Linked DNA regions of Homo sapiens: all the other regions are linked to region 3. Evidence: promoter capture Hi-C in 16 types of primary human blood cells and fetal thymus (Javierre and others, 2016). All regions are on one chromosome and are shown on one strand. The core of a region is centred on a gene start or on the middle of the fragment in contact, and the rest is flanking DNA. Distances in the headings are between cores, read along the strand shown. Region 1 overlaps CAND1 (cullin associated and neddylation dissociated 1). Region 2 overlaps LOC124902957 (a long non-coding RNA gene). Region 3 holds the start of IFNG (interferon gamma).

Evidence for each region. The method cuts DNA at HindIII sites, captures the fragments that hold promoters and counts their contacts. A CHiCAGO score of 5 or more calls a contact.
Region 1: a fragment that was not itself captured here is called in contact with the fragment with the promoter of IFNG in region 3 in 1 of 17 cell types (total B cells); the score reaches 5.4 in total B cells.
Region 2: a contact is called between a fragment that was not itself captured here and the fragment with the promoter of IFNG in region 3, in 3 of 17 cell types (M2 macrophages, total CD4 T cells and naive B cells). The highest score is 8.0, in M2 macrophages.

The regions. Positions count from the first base shown.
Region 1 is chr12:67,316,367-67,319,771 of GRCh38, forward strand. CAND1 (cullin associated and neddylation dissociated 1) reads left to right here. Exons shown (of 15, transcript NM_018448.5): 15 at 1-3,405. Among named protein-coding and RNA genes, the nearest start is that of CAND1, 49 kb to the left of the region's middle. The HindIII fragment of the contact is 2,032 bases long and covers 359-2,390 here.
Region 2 is chr12:67,349,791-67,353,127 of GRCh38, forward strand. LOC124902957 (a long non-coding RNA gene) reads left to right here. Exons shown (of 2, transcript XR_007063354.1): 2 at 1-2,890. It also overlaps the pseudogene MRPL40P1. Among named protein-coding and RNA genes, the nearest start is that of CAND1, 82 kb to the left of the region's middle. The HindIII fragment of the contact is 2,227 bases long and covers 643-2,869 here.
Region 3 is chr12:68,158,302-68,161,384 of GRCh38, forward strand. It overlaps IFNG (interferon gamma), which reads right to left and starts at 1,439. Exons shown (of 4, transcript NM_000619.3): 1 at 1,201-1,439. The coding sequence starts at 1,314. The HindIII fragment of the contact is 12,450 bases long and covers 767-3,083 here.

The DNA.
Region 1 (3,405 bases), core at 125-2,624, 840 kb before region 3:
AAAATGAAATCATATGTTTTCCTTTTCCAATACAGTAAATTGCTTGTTTTCCTATGAATATCAGAAAAGATTTTGTAAACACCTTTGCTGTAGTTTCAGGCAAGATCTTTCAGCAACATGTTTTTGCTCTTTGTAACTTAGAAAGTTAGCTCTGAATCCAAAAACTACTGAAGTGAGTAATGCATATAATTTTACTTTTTTGGACCCTATAATGCCAGTGTGTCAGGTTTCAGAATGATATTTAGTAGACAGAAATACCTAATTTTGTTTTGGAATCTTAATACCCTGTCCTCTTCATAACTTTCTAGTGGTGATTTTAGCAAGTTTAATTATTTTGCTGAGGTCTTAGAAGACAGAAAGCTTATGCTATGTAAAGTGACATTGTTTCCAGATTAGGAAGTATTGGAATTAATTTGCTATTGCCAGTAAGTAATGGTTGATGGATATTAAGTGATTTTAGTCTAGAATGCTCTCAAAAAAATAGTAAAGAATTGTACTTCAGGGCCAGATGGCAGCTCACGCCTGTAATCTCAGCACTTTGGGAGGCCAAGGTGGGGGATCACTTGAAGACAGGAGTTGGAGACCAGCTCTAGGCAACATAGTGAGACCCTGTCTCTACCAAAAAGAAGAAAAAAGAAATCAACAACATGCAACCATAAGAATGGATGAGATGGCCCTAAAAGAATAAGGATTACATATAATGAGAAGACGTGTGGGCTGAAATACCTAGTGAACAATATTTAAGGGAAACTGAAGTGCAAATGGCCTCACAGGTTTGTTTTTGTGTTTAAGACAAGGTCTCACTCTGTTGCCTGGACTGGAGTACATAGCACGAACATGGTTTACTGCACCTCAGCTTCCTGGGCACAAGTGATTCTCCCACCTCAGCCTCCCGAGTAGCTGGGAGTATAGGTGTGTGCCACCACGTCCAGCTAATTTTTTTATTTCCTTGTGGAGATGGGGTCTCATGACCTTGTCCAGGATGATCTCAAACTCCTGGGCTCAAGCAATCCTGTGTTGGCCTCCTAAACTGCTGAGATTATTGCAAGTGCCTCCTTGCCCAGCCACATGTTGTTGATTTCTTTTTTCTTTTTTTTTCTTTCTTAATTTTTTTTTTTTTTTTTTTTTTTGAGATTGATGGAGTCTTGCTTTGTCTCCCAGGCTGGAGTGCAGTGGCGCAATATCGGCTCACTGCAACCTCTGCCTCCCGGGTTCTAGCTATTCTCCTGCCTCAGCCTCCCAAGTAGCTGTGATTACAGGCGTGTGCCACCATGCCCAGCTAATTTTTGTATTTTTAGTAGAGATGGAGTTTTGCCATGTTGGCCAGGCTGGTTTCAAACTCCTGATCTTAGGTGATACACCCGCCTCGGCCTCCCAAAGTGCTGGGATTACAGGCGTGAGCCACGTCCCCCAGCCAGTTTCTTAATCTATACATCTAGCCCAGTCCATGCCCCTGTTTCAGACTATTATATCCAACCACCTGCTATACATCTCATAAAGGTATCTCAAACACAGCATATCTAAAGCTGAAGTCATCATCTTGCCCTGGTTTTTCCTGTCTCTTTGCTGATGGCATCCCATTTACCCAGTCATTCAAACTGGAAATCTAAAAGCCTCACTTAGCAAGAGTTTGGAGGCAGAATATGATAAAGAACAAGGACTCTGGGAGGCCAAGGCAGGTGGATTGCTTGAGGTCAAGAGTTCGAGACCAGTCTGGCCAACATGGCGAAACCCCGTCTTTGCTAAAAAAACACAAAGAAATTAGCTAGACGTGGTGGCACATGCCTGTAGTCCCAGCTGTGTGGGAGGCTGAGGCAGGGGAATTGCTTGAACCTGGGAGGTGGAGGTTGCAGTGACCCAAGATTGCATGCACCACTGCACTCCAGCCTGGGTGACAAAGCGAGACCCTGTCTCAAAAAAAACAAGGACTCTACAGATAGATAGACATCATATATCATATTAGTTTGAATCCTGGCTGTTAGCTGTTAGACTTGGGCAAATAATTTAACCTCAACTTTCCCTATCTATAAAATGGGAATTAAAATATTTGCACCTTATAGGGTTATTGTGAGGATTAAATAGGAACATTGTATAAAGCACTTAAAACAGTACCTGGGACATACTAAGTAATATAATTGTTAACTCTTACTAGCATTCTGTCCCTTTTATTTCCTAAATATCTCTCATGCCCATCTCCTAAATATCTCTTTCCTAAATATCTCTCATGCTTTTGGCTTAAGACCTCTTTTCCTCCTTATCTATTGACTGGACTGCGGCAAATGCCTGCTAATCGTTATTTTTGTGTTCATTCATTTAGCAAGCCAATTTATTACGCGCTTAGGGTGCTGCCAGGGCTACAAAAGCTGTTGAGACTGTACTTGATATGAAGAAGCTTGCTGATTATCATGGGAAGACTGACATAAGGAAGCACCATAAAATTCTGCTGTATGAGAGGTATACACGGGATACTGGGGGTTAATAATTGAGGGTATGGTCCATTCAACATGAGTGAGACAGAAACAATTCATAAAGGAGATGAAATGTCTTGAGGAATGAGCTCTTAGAAGAATAGTTTTCAAATGAGTGTGCATCACAGTCACCTGTAAGACTTATTAAAACAGATCGCTGGGCCCTACACCCAGAGGCTGTGGTTCAGTAGGCTGTAGTAAACCAGTAATTTGTATTTCTATGACGTTCCCAGGTTCTAATGCTGTTCCCCAAGGCCACACCTTGGAAACCACCACATTAAAATACCCAGAAGGCATTAATTCCCAGTCCTTCCTCTACACAGCTGCAAAACAATGGTCCTGACCATTTCATCTTTGCACTACATCCTTCACTGTCTCTCTTTTGCCCATAGGATAAGTACAAACTAGATCTGGTTACTGCCTGCCCCACCAGCCTCAGCATCTCTCACAACTAGGACTAACTTTTTCTTCTGACAACTATAAAATATTTCCCTTGCCTTCTCAAGTTTGCTCAAGGTCAAGTTATGCCTTTTGCCTGGAATGACTTGACTTCTCTTTTGTTTTACTTAGCTGGCTGCTTTTCATCTTGTAGGTTAGGTCAAGGACTCCAGGAAGTCTTCCCTGGACAAGTAATGAAGAGGGCATAATCCAAGGGCCAACTCCCATGTTTGGAACCTGACTCCATTTTCAGGCACGTAATATTGTCAAATTCCTTTTAAAAGCACCTGTCTGTCTGTTAACGTTGGTGCAGATACTGCTATTCCCCTCCTCCATACCATTGCTGATGGTTACTGAGGGTATGGGAAGGGCCGACTAGTCCAGCTGTTCACAAACAGCCCTTAATGTCAAACTGAATACTGCCAACGTAGTTCCAGTTTCTGTATCTAAAGACTCAGCTTGGAGTCACTTGTCTGGACTAAAAGTAACCCCTCCTTGT
Region 2 (3,337 bases), core at 506-3,005, 810 kb before region 3:
TAGTTTGGTGAGGATTAAATGAGTTTATATATACAAAGAGTTTAGAACATTGTCTGGTACATGTAAGCCCTATATAATAATAATCATGACAATTATTATTTACTATTAGAGTCAGTACTTCCAAAAGATATTTGAAATGGCTATTTTAAAAAGGCAAAACAAAACAAAGAAAAAAATACAGGAAAAATTTGCATTTTGAGTTCCTAGAATAAATCAGTTGCTGCAGTTAAATGTTTTAGTTCTGAGCATCTAGGCAGCTATGTCAAAAATGAAAACACTGTTATGTAATATAGTTCTTGTTGATTTGTAATTGAAATCAAATTAGGTCATCTAAAGAAATGAACTTTTTATGAAATTCTAATCATAATTAAATGTGCAGATCCTTGTACAAAGGGGCTTTGAAACAATATTTTGGACTTTCTTAAAAGTCTTAAAGAAGGCCTTTCAGGCATGACGTTAAATCTTAATGCAAAGAAGTATTGTATGCATGTGCTAAACCCACATATTCTAGGTGTTTATTTTTTATAAGTGTCCATTTTCCCTCCTGTTGCCAGAGTGACTTTTAAAAATGCAAACACGATCATGTCACTCCCCTGCTTAAAATTCTTCCCTGACTCTTCATTGCCCACAGTGGTGGTCTCAAGCTTATTTTTAGTCATGGAACCATTTCTTCAAATTAGAACTTACACAGAAATTCAATATGTAAATAAAATATAGGCTGAGTTGCTCTGGATGAAGTACAGGTGAGGACCTGGCATCTGCATTTCCAGCTTCATCTACCTCTCTGCTCGTGCACCTTGTTCCATCCTCCAACCATCAGGATATAATCAGAACCCTTCAGTGTGGTCTAAACAACTTCCATTCAACCCATAAGTTGCCATGCTGGCTGCACTTAGTTTGAGCTTAGATGAGAATCTAACTTACTAACCAAACTGGTACAATTTTGAAAATGAGTTGTTAAAAAATTAACATTATATGAGTTTTGAAATATTTACTTATTGTTCAACAAACTGGTTTTATGTTATTGTTAAGCATATAAAACAATTCCATTAAAACTGTTTTAAAAGGTCTCTCTAAAAATATTAAAGCAAAAATAAAAAACAAAGATCAAAAATAAAAACAAAAAATAAAAAATTATTAAAGCAGATATATTGATTGAATATTTCAAAAAACACAAGTGTAATAATTACTCTTCAAACATAGTACTGTATTTTACTTAGTTTCTTAGTTTGGTCTGCCTTTAAGCCTATGACATTGTTTCTCTTCCTCCTCCCCTTCTTTTCTTTCTTTATTCTTTGAGTAAATAATGCTTTTTTCCCTAATTTGGTTCCAAAATTTTAATAAAATTGCCTCTAATCTTCAAAATATAATTTTATGATATATAAATGGAAAATGTTTGATATATTTACTTCTAGATGAAAATTCTATTTTTAATGAGAATATATTCTCTCTGTCAGTGGTGAGGTAATCAGTAAGCTCACAACAAATGCGGCTAAATAGAAGATATTCCCAATTCTCTTTTAAAATATATTAAAATGGGTAAACATTTTAGCCTAGATATTTTTCTTTCAATCTGGAATGCCTTTCTTTGACATGCACTTCTATAAGACAAATCTTGTAGATCAATATTTCTCAGGGCCAGGCTGCCAACTAGTCCTAGTGCTAGGCTGTGAGCTGGCATGCACTATGTGCCTACCCAGTGGCTTCTGGAGCAGGTTTGAGGCACCCACCAGCGAGCTTCAGTGTTGTCCTCCTACGAACTCATTCCTGTGAGAGCAGAACCTCTTCGAGAGCAGAAGGTGAATTCTAAAAAAGACCAAGCAGGAAAGGGCTGCTTGAAAAATAAGATATGAAAACTGGAAAAGGCTAGCCAAGAGCTCATTCTTGTTGCAGATTTTATTAGCCTTGTGAGGTTCTTGGATAAAGCAAGCCAGTGGCCTCAGGTGGAGCTCTCCTTGGAGGAGAGTGAGTGGAGAGCTCTGCTTCTGATGAGTGGTCTCTGTACAAGCAGCGAGAGCACACTATGGACAGGGACACCATCAAGGCTGTGCTGGGGACCCAGCAGGAAGCTCTGCAGGAGCTACCACTCAAGTCCCCTGAGTTCCCCACTGAGACCATCAAGTGGGACTGCAGCATGTTCCCCTTTGAATGGGAAGGTCCAGATTATACACTATGGGTCTCTAACTACCAGCCCCCCAAAGGCAGGTACAATGACATCACCAAGATGTACACACAGGTAGAGCTCAAGAGAGAGTTGCAGCAGCCAACCTTGGAACATGAGGCCCCGAGAGTCAGAATGACCAGGGTTCCAGTCGGCTTTCCACAGAATCAGGCATACTGATAATAAAGACATGTTTAATCAAAAAAGAAAAAAAAATAAAAGGAAGAAAAACGTTGTCTTTATGACTGTTTGGAGCATTTCACCAAATTTAGGTTTTGTGAAAATGTAGACTTCTCAACTCTATTCCATTCTATTCTGGAACAGAATGCCAATTTATCTGAATAAACGTAGGAGCTCCATCAAAAGACTCTTCAAGTTGAAATATTCCAAAGTGCAATTATAGAATTTCAAAATTAAATCCTGTATCCTGTTTAAATTTGTATTGTTAACATTTGTTCACATCCTTTTTTTTTGTATAGACAAATTTCATTTGCTCTTCTGTAAGTTTTGTTTTCAATAACTTTAATTCTCTAAAAAGTTTTGCAAGCTGAAGGTTTTTGTTCTTCCACTTGTTGAATGCCTTGATTTAAAATTTCAATACTTGTTAATAAAATGTGACCAAAATTTAGAAAACTTGTTTACAAGAGTTGTACGCCACTTGGGTTGACTTGAAAGTAATTTATTTGAAGAATCAAACATTTCAATTAAAGCTTCATGATATGGTTTGGATTTCTTTTCCTGCCCAAATCTCATGTTGAATTGGAGGAGGGGACTGGTGGGAGGTCACTGGATCATGGGGGCAGGTTTCCTTCTTGCTGTTCTCCTGGTAGTGAGTGAGTTCTCATGAGATCTGATCGTTTAAAAGCATGTGGCACCTCCCTCTTCTTTTTCTTTCCTGATTCATCATGGTAAGATGTGCTTGCTTTCCCTTAGTCATCTGCCGTGATTGTAAGTTTCCTGAGGCCTTCTAGCCTCATGCTTCCTGTATAGCCTGTGGAACTGTGAGTCAATTAAACCTCTTTTCTTCATAAATTACCCAGTATCAGGTATAGCAGTGTGAGAACAGACTAATAGACTTCAATTAAAGATTTATTCTTGATAGGTCCAAAACTTTGGCTGATGGGGAAATGGGGCTGTCTAGAACGCCAGATACATGTTACAAGGGGAGGGAGGAAA
Region 3 (3,083 bases), core at 189-2,688:
AAATTGCCTTAAAAATATATTTCAAGTTTCATTGAACTCAGATGTGACAATATTCACTGATTTCCTTTTCAACTCTTCTGCTTAGTTCTAACAATAAGTATTCCCAAAAGGCTTATGTGAGATATAGACAAAGACTATTATGTTCTTTTAGCTTTTTTATTTCCCAATATAACCATTAAATTGCAATGTCACAAATGAGCTCAACAAAGCTGATACTCCAAAGGTCCCAAAAACTATAGTAAGCTAAAGAAAGTATTTTCAAGCTAGGCTAAAAAATACAAAAACAAAAAACAGCAAAGCCACCCCACTATAAAATACTGCCCCCCAATGGTACAGGTTTCTATTACATCTACTGTGCCTTCCTGTAGGGTATTATTATACGAGCTTTAAAAGATAGTTCCAAACATGTGCGAGTGTGTGTGTGTGTGTGTGTGTGTGTGTGATTTGATTTTGTGTTGTAAGAATAAAATCAATTGTGAATGTCTGAATATTATTATGACAGCTATAATTATAACAGCTAAGTTTTAAACAAATAATGAAATATTTAAAATGTAAAAACTTTTCATTAACCATCAATAAAATTTTAAAAGAAACTCAAAAAATTCACTTAAAATTTTTAAACATTCCTTAGCCAGAATCATAATTCTTCCAAAATCCCAGTGAGCAACGAAGTTCCGGAATACTTCACAAGTAATATAGATAGAGAAGCAGAATGTTGAAATCACTTTTTGGAGAAAATCACCTATCAGTTATTTTTTTAAGCCAAAGCTTTAAGGACCTTTTTGACTTTAATTTGTAAACATTTCCTATTACCTTTTTAATGCTAATCTTGACCTTAGAGTCTGAGAAGTCAAAAACTAATAACCAATCATTTTTTTCAATCTGCATACTCCTTGACTATCACAACTGAATGAGTTCCCACCACAAAATTATTAACATCATTATGCTTCATACCCATATTATGCCCATCTTTTGGAAAATTCATAAATCCCTTTTAAGTCTCTATACAAACTGAGCAGAAGGTTAAAACAATATCTAGATTATTTAGTCAAGGAACTCATCTAGTCAATAATTAACAAAATAACACCAAATCTCAAAATGACTGCCTACAAGAGATGACAGCCTATCAGAGATGCTACAGCAAGTCGATATTCAGTCATTTTCAACCACAAACAAGTACTATTAAAAAGTCATACTTACAAAATATTTCTTAAGGTTTTCTGCTTCTTTTACATATGGGTCCTGGCAGTAACAGCCAAGAGAACCCAAAACGATGCAGAGCTGAAAAGCCAAGATATAACTTGTATATTTCATCGTTTCCGAGAGAATTAAGCCAAAGAAGTTGAAATCAGTAGTTCTTGTATCAAGCTGATCAGGTCCAAAGGACTTAACTGATCTTTCTCTTCTAATAGCTGATCTTCAGATGATCAGAACAATGTGCTGCACCTCCTCTGGCTGCTGGTATTTATACCTAATTGAAGTCTCCTGAGGATTACGTATTTTCACAAGTTTTTTAAGATGAGATGGTGACAGATAGGCAGGGATGATAGTTTGTATTAATAACTAAGGTTTTGTGGCATTTGGGTGTTGTAGTTAGAGTTTCCTTTAGACTCCTTGGGTCCTTTGACGATGAGACAGACCCATTATGCCCACCTGTGCCATTCTGGTGGGATTCTTTGAAGGCACTTTTACTTCACACCATTCAAGGACTGGAAATTTTTTTGTACCTCCCCACTTCGCCCTGGTAAAATGTTGACTCTTCATTCACAAAGCACATTGATCATTTGCTTGTGGTTGGGAACAAGTGAAAAACGAAATTCTAGGGCCTCTCAAACCTTTACAAAGGGGCAGCCTTTTAAAATTTTTCTTGCAAATGACCAGAAAGCAAGGAAAGAATGCGGTTAAAAGAACAATTTGGTGAGGAAGTCCTTCATCAGAGTTGGTTAGTAAAATATCTACCACAAGTTTCAAATTGCTCTAGATCAGCACTGCCCAGTAGAAATACAATACAAGCCACACAGGTAAATTTAAATGATCTAGTAGCCTCATTAATAAAAGTTTTTTTAAAAGGTAAATATAATTTTAAAATATATTGTATTTAAACCAATATATCCCAAATAGTACTTCAGTATGCATCAATATACTACATTGTTAATAAGGTATTTGACATTCTTTTTGTCATATTAAATCCTTGAAATACAGTGTAGAGAATATTCCCAGGGGGAGTTCCAGACGCAGTGGCTCACACCTGTAATCCCAGCACTTTGGGAGGTTGAGGCGGGTGGATCACAAGGTCAGGAGTTTGAGACCAGCCTAGCCAATATGGTGAAACCCCATCTCTACTAAAAATACAAAAAAATTAGCCAGGCATGGTGGTGTATGCCTGTAATCTCAGCTACTAGGGAGGCTGAGGCAGGAGAATGGCTTGAACCCAGAAGGTGGAGGTTGCAGTGAGCCGAGATCGCGCCACTACACTCCAGCCTAGGTGACAGAGTAAGATTCCGTCTCAAAAAAAAAAAAAGAAAAAAAGAAAAAAGGAAAGAAATACAGTGTATATTTTAAGCCTACGGTGCATCTCAATTTGGTCTAGTCGTATTTCAAACGCTTAATGGGCACATACTGCTAGGTGCTACTATATTGAACAGCATAGCTCTAAACAATTTATTGTTCCAAATAATCAGTACTAACAGAGAATCTTTTTAACTTTTTATTTCTTTGTCTTTCAGATACAAAAAAAAATAGGATTCTTTCTCCTCCTTTGTAATTTATTTATGAAGTACAACACTTTGGGATGGCACAAAAAGCCCTCCACTCTTTGGTTCAAACCCACTTTGCATTTCTACCTGTACTGTGTACATAACAGTATTGCAGTTATGGGGCAAACTTGATTCCTGACTCCTCTACTATCTAGCTATATGATTGTGAGTTAGCTTCTTAAATCTTCTATGACTCAGTCTCCTTACCTGTAAAACTGGCTTGATAATAGTATCTTCTTCCATGCTTCAGTTGAAAATTAAATCAGGTAATCCTCATAAAGTGCTAGGAATTTTTCCTGGCATATAGTAATCACTAATAAAAGTTTA